2 separate regions of the Homo sapiens genome follow, and region 2 is linked to region 1. Evidence: promoter capture Hi-C in human tissues and cell types (Jung and others, 2019). All regions are on one chromosome and are shown on one strand. The core of a region is centred on a gene start or on the middle of the fragment in contact, and the rest is flanking DNA. Distances in the headings are between cores, read along the strand shown.

Region 1 (7,110 bases), core at 4,611-7,110:
ATACTACCTGACTTCATGATTTACTCTAAAACTACAGTAATCAAGACAGTGTGGTATTTGTTAAAGAACAGACAAATAAGGCTGGGCGCGGTGGCTCACGCCTGTAATCCTAGCACTTTGGGAGGCCAAGGCAGGTGGATCATGAGGTCAGGAGATCTATACCATCCTGGCTAACACGGTGAAACCCCGTCTCTACTAAAAATACAAAAATTAGCCGGGCGTGGTGGCAGGTGTCTGTAGTCCCAGCTACTCAGGAGGCTGAGGCAGGAGAATGGTGGGTGAACCCAGGAGGCGGAGCTTGCAGTGAGCCGAGATTGCGCCACTGCACTCCGGCCTGGGCAAGAGAGTGAGACTCCGTCTCTTAAAAAAAAAAAAAAAAAAGGAATAGACAAATAAATTAATGAAAAAGGATAGAAAGCAGAGTAGCAGACTAAAAAGAAATAGACCCAGATAAATATAGTCAACTGATCTTTCATAAACAAGCAAAGCAATACAATTAAGAAAAGACAGTCTTTTCAACTAACGATGCTGAATAACTAGACACCCACATACAAATAAATGAATCTAGGCCCAGATTTTACATTTTTCCCCAAAATGACTCAAAATGTATCATAGTCCTAAAGGTAAAACACAAAACTGTAAAACTCGTAGAAGATAATATAAGAGAAAGCCTAGATAACTTTGGGTATGGTGATGACTTTTTAAATATAATACCAAAGGCACAATCCATGAAAGAAAGAACTGATAAACTGGACTTCATTAAAACTAAAAACTTTCAACCTGCAAAAGACATAATCAAAATAATGAAAAGACAAATTATTAATATCATATGTCTTTTGAGAATTGCAAGTTAAAATAATGAGATATCATTACATATTACTTAAGTGTTACATTAAAACATTAACAATATCAAATACTAGCAAGGATGTGGAGCAACCAGAAGTCTCATGCATTACTGGTAAGAAAGCGAAATGCTACAGCCACTTTGGCAGTTTCTTACAAAAGAAAACATACTTGAAGGGAGGGGCCAAAATGGCCAAACAGAAACAGCTCTGGTCTGAAGCTCCCAGTGAGATGAATGCGGAAGGCAGGTGAATTCTGCATCTCCATCTGAGGTACCAAGTTCATCTCATTGGGCAGCTGGTGCAACCCACAGGAAGCAGGAAGAAAGCAGGTGGGGTGTCATTTCACCCAGGAGCTGCACAGGGTGGGGAGACTTGCCTCCCTGAGGTAAGGGAAGTGGCGAGGGTCTGTCCTACCCACCAGGTGTACTATGCTTCTCCCACAGATTTTTGCAATCTGCAGATCAGAAGATTCCCTCATGAGCCTACACCACCAGGGCCCTGGGTCTCAAGCACAAACCTGGGCAAACCAATGACAGCCACTCCCATTGGTGGCTGTTTAGGCAGGCACTGAGCTGCAGGAGTTTTTACATACTCCAGTGGTGCCTGGAACTCCAGTGAGGCACGAGAACCATCCAGTCCCATGGAAAGGGGGCTGAAGCCAAGGAGGAGAGCCCAGCAGTCTCAATCAGTAGGTTCTACTCCCATGGATCCCTGCAAGCTAAGACCCACTGGCTTGAGATCCCTGCTGCCAGCAGAGTAGTCTGGAGTGTGCCTGGAATGACTAAGTTCCTGGGGGGAGGGGTGACCACCATTAGTTGGCGGTTTGCCCCTGACAGTGCAAAGGAGCCTGAGAGGTTTGGACTGGGCCAGATTTCCCACAGTGCAGCAAACTGGCTGTGGCAGGTTGTGGCCAGACTGCCTCTTTAGGTGGGACCCTGAGCCATCCCTCCTCACCAGGCAGGTCATCCCTGCAAGAATTCCAGCAGCTCTGGTCAGGGGCTTACAGACAGAACTCTCATCTCGCTGAGTCAGAGAACCTGAGGGGAGAGGCAGTTTCAGGTTCAGCAGACTTATCTTTTCTGCCTGCTGGCTCTGAAGAGACCAGATGAACCCGATGAGTGGGATTCCCCCAGCACAGCACACCAGCTCTGCTAAGGGAATGTCAGATTCTCTACATAAGCGGGTCCTTGATCCCATGCCTCCTGACTGGGTGAGACTTCCCAACAAGGGTCACCAGACACCTCATACAGAAGAGTTCCGGCTGGCATCAGGCCAGTGCCCCTCTGGGGCAAAACTTCTGAAGGAAGAAGCAGGCAGCAATCTGCTGTTCTGCAGCCTCCACTGGTGATACCCACGTGAACAGGGTCTGGAGTGGATCCCCAGCAAACTGCAGCAGACTTGCCTCAGAAAGGCTGACTGTTAGAAGATAAACAAACAAACAGAAAGTAACAACAACAACATCTACAAAAAAGACTCCACAAAAACCCCATTCAAAGGTCATCAGTCTCAAAGATCAAAGGTGGATAAATCCACGAAGATGAGGAAAAAACAATGAAAAAACGGTGAAAATTCCAAAAGCCAGAGTGCCTCTTCTCCTCCAAATGATCGCAACAGTTCTCCTGTGAGGGCACAGAACAAGGCTGAAGCTGAGATGGATAAACTGACAGAAGTAGGCTTCAGAAAGTTGGTAATAACGAATTTCGCTGAGCTAAAGCATTATGTTCTAACCCAATGCAAAGAAGCTAAGAAGCATGATAAAAGATTACAGGAGCTGTTAACCAGAATAACCAGTTCAGAGAGGAACATAAATGACCTGATGGAGCTGAAAAACACAGCACGAGAACATCATGTTGCAAACACAAGTATCAATAGCTGAATTGACCAAGCAGAAGAGAAAATATCAGAGCTTGAAGACTCTCTTGCTGAAATAAGGCAGACAGACAAGATTAGAGAAAAAAGAATGAAAAGAAATGAACAAAACTTCCAAGAACTATGGGACTATGTAAAAAGACCGAACCTACCACTGACTGGAGTACCTGAAAGAGACAGGGAGGATGGAACCAAGTTGGAAAACACACTTCAGGATATAATCCAGGAGAACTTCCCCAACCTAGCAAGACAGGCCAATATTCAAATTCAGGAAATCCAGAGAACCCCAATAAGATACTTCATGAGTAGATCAACCCCAAGACACATACTCCAAGGTCGAAATGGAAGAAAAAATATTAAGGGCAGCCAGGGAGAAAGGTCAGGTCACTGACAAAGGGAAGTCCATCAGATTATGAATTTTGAGTGCTACAATATGCCAATGTAGGTTATTAATTGTAATAAATGTACTGCTGGTGAAGAATGTTGATGTTAGAGACTGCTATGGTTTGAATGTGTCTCCAAAGTTCATGTGTTAGATACTTAATCCCCAATGCAATAGTGTTGAGAGGCAGGTCCTTTAAGAGGTAATCAGGTCATAATGTCCTTATAATGGGAGTGGGTTTACTATCACGAAAGTGGATTTGTTATAAAAGCAAGTTTGGTGCCTCTTGCTCTCTCTCTTTCTTATGCATGTGCTCTCTTGCCCTTCCAAATTTTGCCATGGGATGATGGAGCAAGATGTGTTTCTCAGTCTTGAACTTTCCAGCCTCCAGAACTATGAGCCAATAGATTTTGTTCATTATAAATTACCCAGTCTTGGGTATTCTGTAATAGCAGCACAAAACAGACTAAGACAGAGTCTATATATGTGTGGCAACAAGGAGAAAATGAAAAAAAAAACTACCTTTCTCACAATTTTGCTGTGATCCCAAAATGGCTCTAAAAATATGGTCTTTAAACAAAACAAAAAAGAGCAAAAGGAAAAAGGATATACTAGCAGCAGATCTTACAAGAATATCCAAATTTAAAGAGCCATCAAACCAGTGGTGAATTTAAATTTCCCTCCTCTAGTATCACTGCCCCGAACTTAATACAGCCAGAAACATGGAATTGAGCCTCTGTCAGCATAAAGAGAGGGCTCCAGGAGAAGCACTAGAGGTATGGTCTGAGGAACAGAAAAGCAAACTCCTATCTCAAATAGAGTGTGAAAATACCACGTTTATTTTTTCTCCCCCTCTTGTCTACATTCTCATGTGCCTCAAACCTCAGGCAATCTGATGATGGTAGGGGAAACTACAGCAACATGCAATAGCCAAAACCTTGAGAAAGGTTAATCCTCGGCCGGGCGCGGTGGCTCACGCCTGTAATCCCAGCAGTTTGGGAGGCCGAGGCGGGCGGATCACAAAGTCAGGAGATCGAGACCATCCTGGCTAACACGGTGAAACCCCGTCTCTACTAAAAATACAAAAAAGTAGCCGGGCGTGGTGGCGGGCGCCTGTAGTCCCAGCTACTCAGGAGGCTGAGGCAGAATGGCGTGAACCCAGGAGGCGGGGCTTGCAGTGAGCCGAGATCGCGCCACTGCACTCCAGCCTGGGGGACAGAGTGAGACTCCACCTCAAAAAAAGAAAAGAAATCTAAAGTCAATCCTTTCCATTCAGTTGAGCTGTAGCTCCATGAGAGTGGGGCCAAACCTCTTGCTTTTTTTTTCTTCTTTCTCACTGTCCGTCTGCCACATGAGCTTAAAGATGCAGCTATAATTGCAGAAGTATATGGTTCATCAGAATAAAAGGAGGCCCGCATTTCTAGCTGGAGGATGGAAAGGAGAAGCCCCTGGGAACCTGAAAGTACGGGTCAGATGGTGAAGAGGAAGAAACTTTAGAAAGAGACCCATGAACATTATTCATAAACTCCTGGATTCACCTGCCCCTCAACTTATGCATGCCTAGATATGGTTCTAATTGGCACACTAAAGATGCTAAGACCTGAACTAATGAGTAGAGCATTGCACAGTTCCCAATTTCACCCCTGGTTGATGCACATGTCTGAATAGCACTACAAAGGCTTTCAGAATGGAACTGACATTGGAACCAGATCCCACAGATTGTCTTCATCTCACCAGGGTGATTGCTTGCTAAAACAATAGTATCAATATACTCCAAAATTTAAATAAGATCCAGTCTAACTAAATATTTGTTCAAAATGTTCAAATTACAATCCAAAATTACACAGTATATGAAGAACCACGAAAATGTCAACTTCCATGGGGAAAGAAAACACAAGCCAAGGAGGACATGACAGAGATGTTGGAACTATCCGACAAACAGTTTAAAGCATTTGGTATAAAATGCTCAAAATACCCAATGAATGAAGAAATAAATGAAGTCATTTAACAACATTTAGAGTTCATCTTTTTCTGCCTCTGAATTACCTTTTCTCCAAATTGATTACCTTTTAAGTTGGGAGGAGAAAACTCCAAACTTTTAAGTCCTAAGTTATAAAACCTTGATATTCCCTAACTGTGGCAAAAGTCATTTTTTTCACTTACTAAAGCATCATATAAAGCTATATATATATATATTTCCAGTGCATCCAATGTAACATAATTCCATTAGAATGCCCTACTAAGTTTCTACTCAACCTTTGTTACTTTTTTGATTTGTAAATGTCCTTTACATACTATTTTCTACCTTTTCTCTCTTAAGAGCTTCCATGATAGGTTTTCTACCTATGTAATAATGATGGTATCTTGTATCTGAGTAACACTTTAGAGTTTGTATAGATTTTTTTTTAGTGAAATTAACTGTTATTTTCAATCCTAAACTTAACCTTATCTCATTGTCTTACATCTTTCTCTCATTGTTCCCTCTCCTTAGTTGTTAGAACTGGGAATATAAATATATGCATGTTTTACACAAATTATAAGCCAATTTATGGACTCCCACATTCCATCTCTTATCCTTGAAAACTTTTTACTAGATCAGCACCTTTCCTGTGTGAGCCCATCACTACCACTACCTTCCCATTCCAGTCCTCACACTTACTCTGTAGAGCCCAGCTTCTTACCTGGGTTTGCAGGCAATTCAGATGGTGTAATGTCTTTCTCCACATTGTTACTGTCATGCATTTTGCCTCCAGTTTCTATGAGTGATCTAAACCACAGTCTCTACGTTTTCAACCCCAAGAATGATTCAAAACAAAACAAAAAAAAAGCCCAACGACTAAAACGTGTAAGTGTGTAACCGCCCCAGTAACTCAAAATGTCAAGCCTTTAAGTTAAATATAGCTAGAGGAACAAATGAAGCATAAATTGTTTCAAAAATCAGCTCATCACAACAGAATAAACTGGTGTTTGTAAGAATTTTAAAAAGTTGAAGCTACTTCTCTAACAGTATTTTGGTTACGAAAGAAACTAATGTTTGATAACTTAAAATTTCTTTGACTATTAAAAATTATAATTGTATTTTGTGCGGTACAAAGCAATATTATGATAGAAAATAAGAATTTATTGAAAGGAAGGAGTTGGCTCTCAGAGGAAATGAATGTTAGGTAAGTAAAGACAACAGCAATTTTAATCTCAAATTAAAATTCATTCCCAAGAGTTTACGCTCATTCAAAAAATATCTTGTTTTCAATTTCTTCAAGATATTTTGGGAATTTGCTGCTATGGCTGCTACAACAACTTTTCAAAAATGGGCTTGAACGGTGTGCAGCTTCTGTGCTCCCTCTGGCATGATCCAGGAGCACAGAGGCTCTTTAGCAGCAAGAGCTTCTTGTCAGATGTGTTGATTTCTTGTATATAAATGCCAGTAAGGGCACCTTTTACTAAAATATAATTTATAGTAATGTGCACAAATCATAAGCATACAACTAAACACATTCATTAAAAATATAACATGTAACAAGTGCCTAGATGAAGTATATCTTAAAACCACGTAAAACAATACCAACACGCTATGTGCCCTACTCATGTCCTGCAACGCTCATTACCCCAAATACAATCTCTATCTTAACTCTGACAACATATTTTCCCTGCTTTTGAATTCTATACAGTAGCCCCCCTTACCTGTAAGAAATAAGTTCCAGATTGGACAGCTATTGCCTTTATCAAATAGAAATGAAGTTGCATTAGGACTGAGTTCCAGTTTCTGTAAGATTTTATATATCTTTTTCTTTACTATTTCATCATTTCTAGTTTGTCCTAGGACCTATGATAAAGCCTTCTAGTAATTCCATCTGAGAACCTGCTTTTTATCAAAGCTGCTTCTCTTTCTTGGAAGTTGAATTTGGTTTTGTCTCCTGAACAACATGTGATTGCCAAAAGTTCAAGTCTGTTTTTCACATAGTTCTTCCTAACCTCCTTTCCTGTGAAATTTAATAATTTGAAAATTGCTTGAGA
Region 2 (7,110 bases), core at 2,948-5,447, 220 kb after region 1:
TGTCTGGATTACAGGCGTGAGCCACCGCACCCGGCCAATACTAGTTTTAAACAGCCTGGTGGAATTGGATCATAAAGTATCTCTTTGCAAATATGCAAAGAGCAGGTAGTCTATTCAGGGGTTTGCCTGCAATAAGGTAGGCAGAGTCTGATGCCTGACAGGTAACAAGCAATAGCCACTATCAAGGCTCTCAAAAATCAGATAACTAAAAGGAGTCTTAGGTATAGTTGGCTTTTGTCACCTTTGATCCCTAATTTTGGTCTCCTAGTAAAGCACTTATCTGAGGCATTTAAAATGTCAGAGTCGGAACCTTTATATTAGACAGTGGAATGCCAACAGTCATTCAATAACATTAAAGAAAAACTAAGGAAATTCTTTATGGGCCCCCAAGATATTTACCCTAAGATAGTTACGTTGAATTTCACCCTGACCATGTAAATTGATGGCTTATCTTCACAGGCATGGAACAAGACACATAAGTCATCCCTCTTCTCACCTGAGACAAATGCATATCTGATTGCTCCCCCTGCCTGTTTATCTTATGTAAAAATGCAGATTCATTGAACTAGATGAATGTTTAAGTGACTGTTCCCCTACCCTCTTACATGTGAAGGCTAATCAAAGACTCAAAAAGAATGCAACTGCTTGCCTCGTATCTACCCATACCCTTTTAAAAATGTATCTTCTTCTTTCAATACCTGGCCTTTTCCCTTTAAATATTGGGATCCCAAGACCCTCTTTGGAAAAAGCATGAAACACAATGTTTCCTGTGGATCTACGTTCTTTCCTGGGCATGTCCTCAACCTCAGCAAATAAACCTAAAATGATCAGGACTCACCTTGGTCATTTTTCTTTAGTTTACATTTCCTAAGCTACAGACCTGTGCAGCACATGACTATACTGAATACTGTGGGCAACTTCAACATGATGGTATCTGTGTCTCCAAATGTCTCAACAAAGAAAAGGTACAGTAAACATATGGTTTGAAAGATAAAAGTGGTATGCCTCTAAAGGGCACTATAGCATTATAGTATTTACATGTCTTTGCCCAGGGTTCCTGGCTCATAACTTCTATGGCCCTCATTATAGTCTTGTTACAGTGCTGGGACACTTTAGGCTCAGAAAACAGACTCTCTGTCTCTGACTTTCTCCTGCCCTCCTTTCACCTGCCCAAGGCAGGACTCTGCACATTATAAGATCCTCATTCCAGAGAGGGTCCTGCCCATCCTTAGGAGGTGAGAATGCTGCACAGAGAGGCCAAGAAGAATCTGGATAAGCCTTGGTGGGTTATCCTATCTCATACAACTAGTGTTAGATCATCCCTTCTGGTCCAGTTGTATTTGTACATGGTTGTCAATCATGTCTACCCAATGATGTCTCCATTGAAGGCTCAAGAGGACAGGGCTCAGGGAGCTTCTGGAAAGCTGAACACGTGGAGGCTGACAAAACTCTTCCCTATGCCAGGAGGGTGGCACACCCCAACTCCACAGAAGCTCCTGGGTTAGGGACCCCTCCAGACTCACCCTATGTATCTCTTCAACTGGCTGTTTATTTGTATCATGTAAAATACCCTTTGTAATAAACCAGTAAACATAAGTGTTTCCCTGAGTTGTGTGAGCACTCTAGCAAATTAATCAAACACAAAGAAGAGGTCATAGGAACCCCAACTTGAAGCTGGTGGGTCAGATGTTCTAGAGACCTGGACTTGCTATCTTGGGAAGGAGGGGACAGTCTTGGGAGACTGAGCCTACAACCTGTGGGATCTGATGCTATCTCCAGGTAGGCGGTGTCACAATTGAACTGGAGGACACCTAGCTGGTGTCCCCTCCAGAACTGCTTGCTTGCTTGGTGTGTGGGGAGAAATTCCCCTGTATGTGGTCATAGAAGTCTTCCATGTTGATGGTTGCTGTGGTGTGAGAGCAGAAGAAAAACACATTGGAGGTGGTTTTTCCACACACAGGCACTTACTATGAATGGAGCTTGCAGGACTGGAAGTTGCTCTGGGTGAGTCAGGGAGTGTGTGTTGCATGCAGGTGAAAGCCTAGGACATTACTGCACACTGTTGTGGACTTTATAAACAGTGGACACTTAGGCTACACTAAATTTGTTAAAATATTGTTCTTTCTTCAGTAAATTAACCTTAGGTTTCTGTATCTCTTTCACTTTATAAACCTTTTAATTTTTTAAACTTTTTGACTCTTGTAATAACGCTTAGTTTAAAACACAACTGTAAAGCTTTTCTTTATAAGCTTTTTTCTATTTAAAAAAAATTTTTTTTAGTTTTTAAACTTTTCTGTTAAAAATTAAGACACAAACACACACATTAGCTCAGGCCTAAACAGGGTCAGGATCATCAATATCACTGTCTTCCACGTGTTGTCCCACTGGAAGGTCTTCAGGGGCAGTAACACGTATGAAGCTGCCGCGTCTTATGATAACAATGCTTCCTTCTGGGATATTTCCTGAAGGATCTTGGCTGAATCTGCTTTTCAGTCAGCTTCGTTTTTGGAAAGCAGAGGCCGGGCATGGTGGCTCACACCTGTAATCCCCGTACTTTGGGAGGACAAGGTAGAAGGATCACATATAGCCAGGAGTTCAAGATCAGTTTAGACAACAGAGCAAGAACCTGTCTCTACAAAAAGTAAAGATAAAAAAAATTAGTTGGGTGTGATAGTGTGCATCTGTTGTCCAGCTACTTGGGGGACTGAAGTGAGAGGATGGCGTGAGCCCAGTTCAACACTTTAGTGAGCTATGATTATGCTGCTGCAGTCCAGCCTGGGCAACAGAGCAAGACTCTGTCTCAAAAACAAAACAAAACTAGAAAGAGTACACTCTAAAATAATAATAAAAGTATTGTAAACACATAAACCAGTAACAGTCATTTATGATCATTATCAAGTATTGTGTACCGTATGTAACTCTCCAAGCTATACTCTTATACACTGGCAACTCAGGTTTGCTTATACAAGGACCACCACAAACATGTGAGTCATGCGTTGTGCTACCATGTTATGATAGTTACTATGCCACTAGGTCACAGAAATTGCTCAGCTCTGTTATAATCTATGGAACCACCTTCCTGTATGCAGTCTGTTGTTGGCTGAAATATCGTTATGCAGCCCGTGACTGTGCATTGGCATTTGTCCACTTGGCCTTCAGCCTAGCTTTGTACTTTGTCTTTGACATTTTGGTTTCCACTGCAATTTACTTCAGGCTTGGACTCCTTGAGGATCTCTCCAAACCTGCCATGGTCTGTTTCTTGCCACCAGTCCCTAGCTGCACATTCTTAGGGCAGCTGCCCCAGCTTAGTCTGATTTATGGGGCCCCTTATCTCGTAACTTTTAGAATCTTGACCAAGTCAGGCTACCCGGCAGGAGGAAATGTCAAAGGCAGAGGCAAAAGTGGCCCTCTCACTTTATCTGTATCTCCAGGGTCTTCCTTTGCATGGTCTCCTTTCCTTCCACCCTCAAGTCCATTCCTCTCCTGTTTCTCTCCGCCCCTCCAGGTTTCCTCCTTTAACCACATCACCTAGAGTCATCTTCACCGTGCAAAGTGGTTTTGTTCAAACTAATGTATTAACACTCAACTCAGTGCAGTTGCCCTTTGAATGATCACACCCAGGAGACTTTTTTCTAATTAGTGTTCACCTTGACTGTACTATATTTCAGTGTTGATCATTTTGTCCTTTGGCTCAGATAGCTGTAAACTGCCTTCTATTTCACTGATTCATCATTCTCTCATCTTCCTTTCCCATCTTCAAATGTGGACATTTCTTAAAGGTCATTCTCTCTTCCTCATTTTTTTTCAAAAACTTTTAAGAAAATATACATAATAAAATGTACCTTAACCCTGTTCAAATGTACACTTCATTCATGTTGGACATACTCGCATTGTTGTGCGACCAGTCTCCAGAACTTTTCCTCTTGCAAAACTGAAATTCTTACACCCGTAAAACAACTCCCTATTTGCCCTTCCCCCAGCCCCTGACAATCACTCTTCTACTTTCTGTCTCTATGAATCTGACTACTCTAGCAACCTCATGTAAGTAGAATAATACAGTATTTGTCTTTTGACTGGCTTTTTCACTGAGTATAATGTGATGGTTAATTTTATGTGTCAACTTGGCTGAGCCACCGTACCCATACATTTGGCCAACATTATTCTGGGTGTTTCTGTGAAGGTGTTTTTTGGATGAGATTAACAATTAAATCAATGGACTCTAAGTAAAGCAGATTACCCTCCATAATGTGGGTGGACCTCATTCAATTAGGTGAAGACCTTACTAGAGCAAAGACTGACTTCCCCTGAACAAGGAGTTGTGCCAGCAGACTGCCTTTGGCCTTGAACCATAACTCTTCCCTAGGTCTCCAGCCTGCCAGTCAATACAATCAGATTTTCACTCACCAGTCCTCTACAACTGCATGAGCTAATTCTTTAAGCTTCTTTTTCGCTGTGTAGATAGACACACACACACACACCCACACACACACACACACACCCTGCTGGTTGTTTCTCTGGAGAACCCTAATACAAATAATAGCCTCAGGGCTCATCCATGTCATAGCATGTGTCAGAACTTCCTTCCAAGACTGAATCATATTCCATTGTATGTATATACCACACTTTATCCACTCATCTGTCAATAGACACTTGGGTTGCTTCTACCTTTTGGCTGTTGCGAATAATGCTGTTATAAACACAGGTGTGCAAAAATGTCTTCAAGACACTGCTTTTACTTCTGTTGTTTACAAACCCAGATGTGAAATTGTTGGATCATATGGTAATTCTATTTTTAATTTTTTTCCATAGCGGCTACACCATTTTACATTCCCACCAGCCATGTACAAATTTCTAATTTCTCTATATCCTTGCCATCATTTATTTTTTGTTTTGCTCCTTTTGGGTTGAGGTTTTTTCTTTCTTCTTTTTTTTTGAGACAGGGTCTTGCTCTGTCACCCAGGCTGGAGTGCAGTGGTGCAATTATAGCTCACTACAGCCTTGAACTCCTGGGCTCACACAATCCTCCTACCTCAGCCTCTTGGGTAGCTGGGACTACAGGTGTGTGCCACGATTACCCCCTAATATTTTTTTAAATTTTTTGCAGAGATCTGGTCTCACTATGTTACACAGGATGGTCTTGAACACCTGCCCTCAAGTTATCCTCTCGCTTCAGCTTCCCAAAGTGCTGGAATTGCAAGTATAAGCCACTGTGCCTGGCTGTGTGTGTGTGTGTGTGTGTGTGTGTGTGTGTGTGCAATAGTAGCCATCCCAGTGGATTGCAGTGGTACCTCATCGTGGCTTTGAGTTGCATTTTCCCAGTGACTGGGATGTCGAGCATCTTTTCATGTGCCTGTGGGCCATTTGCACATCTTTTTTTGGAGAAATATCTATTTAAGTATTTTGCCCATTTTTTTAATCAGATTGTTTTCATGTTGCTGAGATACAGAAGTTCTTTATATATTCTGGTTATTAACCCCTTATCAGATAGATGATTTACAAATACTTGCTCCCATTCTGTAGGCTGCCTTTTCACTCTGTTGATCCTGTCCTTCAATGCACAGAAGTTGTAACTTTTGTTGTTGTCCAATTCATCTATTTTTATGTTATTTTACAAATCCCTCAACTCATCATCAATTTTTTTGTTGCCTGTGCTTTTTGGTGTCATAGCCAAGGAATCATTGCCAAATGCAATGTCATAAAGCTTTTCCCCTCTGTTTTCTTCTACCAGTTTTATAGTTTTATAGCTTTTAACTTTAATTTTTAACTTCATTTTAACTTTAGAAAATCCATCTTAAGTTAATTTGGATATATTGTATAAGACAAGGATCCTACTTCATTCTTTTATATGTGGATACCTCCTTCTTTTTGGAAACTTTTCCTTTCAGTAATCTTACTACCTCCACAGCTTTAGTTTAGATGTTTTTTGTTGTTGTTGTTGTTTCCCAGGGGTGATCAAATCCATATATCCAGCTTTTACCACCTTCCTCAGTTCTAGTCCCCCCATTTTCAAACACCACTGAAAATTTAGTTTGACTAAGTACATCAACCTATTATGTGAAGAAACAACATGTCCCACCCCCACTACGGTGTGGCTTAATGAGCTAAAGTAACATATCAAGATAGACATAATAATCCAAGAAACTGGGGTTCAGAGAAGTAAATATTATTAGGGTGCATCTTGCGCTGTTCCACAGTGAGGCATATAGGGTTTTGGGGACAGAACAATCTAGTCTCTAATAATGTTTTCTCTTATAGCACAGGCACATTTCATGAGCCTTTCCCACTACCTAGGTGTTCCAGTTTGGATGTGGTTTGTTTGGCCTAAGTCTCATGTTGAAATCTGATTTCCAGTGTTGGAGGTGGCGTCTGGTGGGCAATGTTTGGACCATGGGGGTACATCCCTCATGAAAGGCTTGCTGCCCTTATGGCAGAAGTGACTCAGTTCTCACTCTTAGTTCCCGAGAGAATTGCTTGTTGAAAACAAACTTGTACCTCCTACATGCTCTCCTTCTAGAAGAGGATCTAAGGAAATTTATAATAAAAGCAGAGGAACGCTGAAACCAAACCCAATTCATATCAGTAATAGCTACCATTTGTTAAGCTTCCACAATGACATGTAAGATGTTAAGCCCTTTATGTTACCAGGATTATCTCACTTATCTCATAAGAATTCTAGAACATAGGTCCTATTATTATCTTTATTTTATTCGTGAGAAAAGCAGAGACTCAGAAGGCTTAAGTCATAGGCCAAGGTCATTCAGCCAGTTGAATGGTGGAGTGGGGAATATCTGGATCCAGGCAGTCAGACTTTTTTTTTTTTTTTTTTTTTTGAGACGGAGTCTCGCTCTGTCGCCCAGGCTGGAGTGCAGTGCCGTGATCTCGGCTCACTGCAAGCTCCGCCTCCCAGGTTCACGCCATTCTCCTGCCTCAGCCTCCCAAGTAGGTGAGACTACAGGCACCCACCACCACGCCCGGCTAATTTTTTTTTTTTTGTATTTTTAGTAGAGACGGGGTTTCACCGTGTTAGCCAGGATGGTCTCGATCTCCCGACCTCGTGATCTGCCCACCAGGCAGTCAGACTTTATTAGAAAATGCACTTAAAATTAGCAA

The links. The method cuts DNA at HindIII sites, captures the fragments that hold promoters and counts their contacts. A contact is called where the count stands out against the background at its distance.
Region 2: a fragment that was not itself captured here is called in contact with the fragment with the promoter of CLEC2D in region 1 in 1 of the 25 tissues and cell types used here (hippocampus).

What each region holds. Positions count from the first base shown.
Region 1 is chr12:9,668,463-9,675,572 of GRCh38, reverse strand. CLEC2D (C-type lectin domain family 2 member D) reads right to left here and starts at 5,860. Exons shown (of 5, transcript NM_013269.6): 1 at 5,778-5,860. The coding sequence starts at 5,838. RefSeq lists an enhancer at 1,982-2,241. The HindIII fragment of the contact is 24,993 bases long and covers 1-7,110 here.
Region 2 is chr12:9,451,658-9,458,767 of GRCh38, reverse strand. It overlaps the pseudogene OVOS1P. Among named protein-coding and RNA genes, the nearest start is that of LINC02367, 88 kb to the right of the region's middle. The HindIII fragment of the contact is 3,909 bases long and covers 2,243-6,151 here.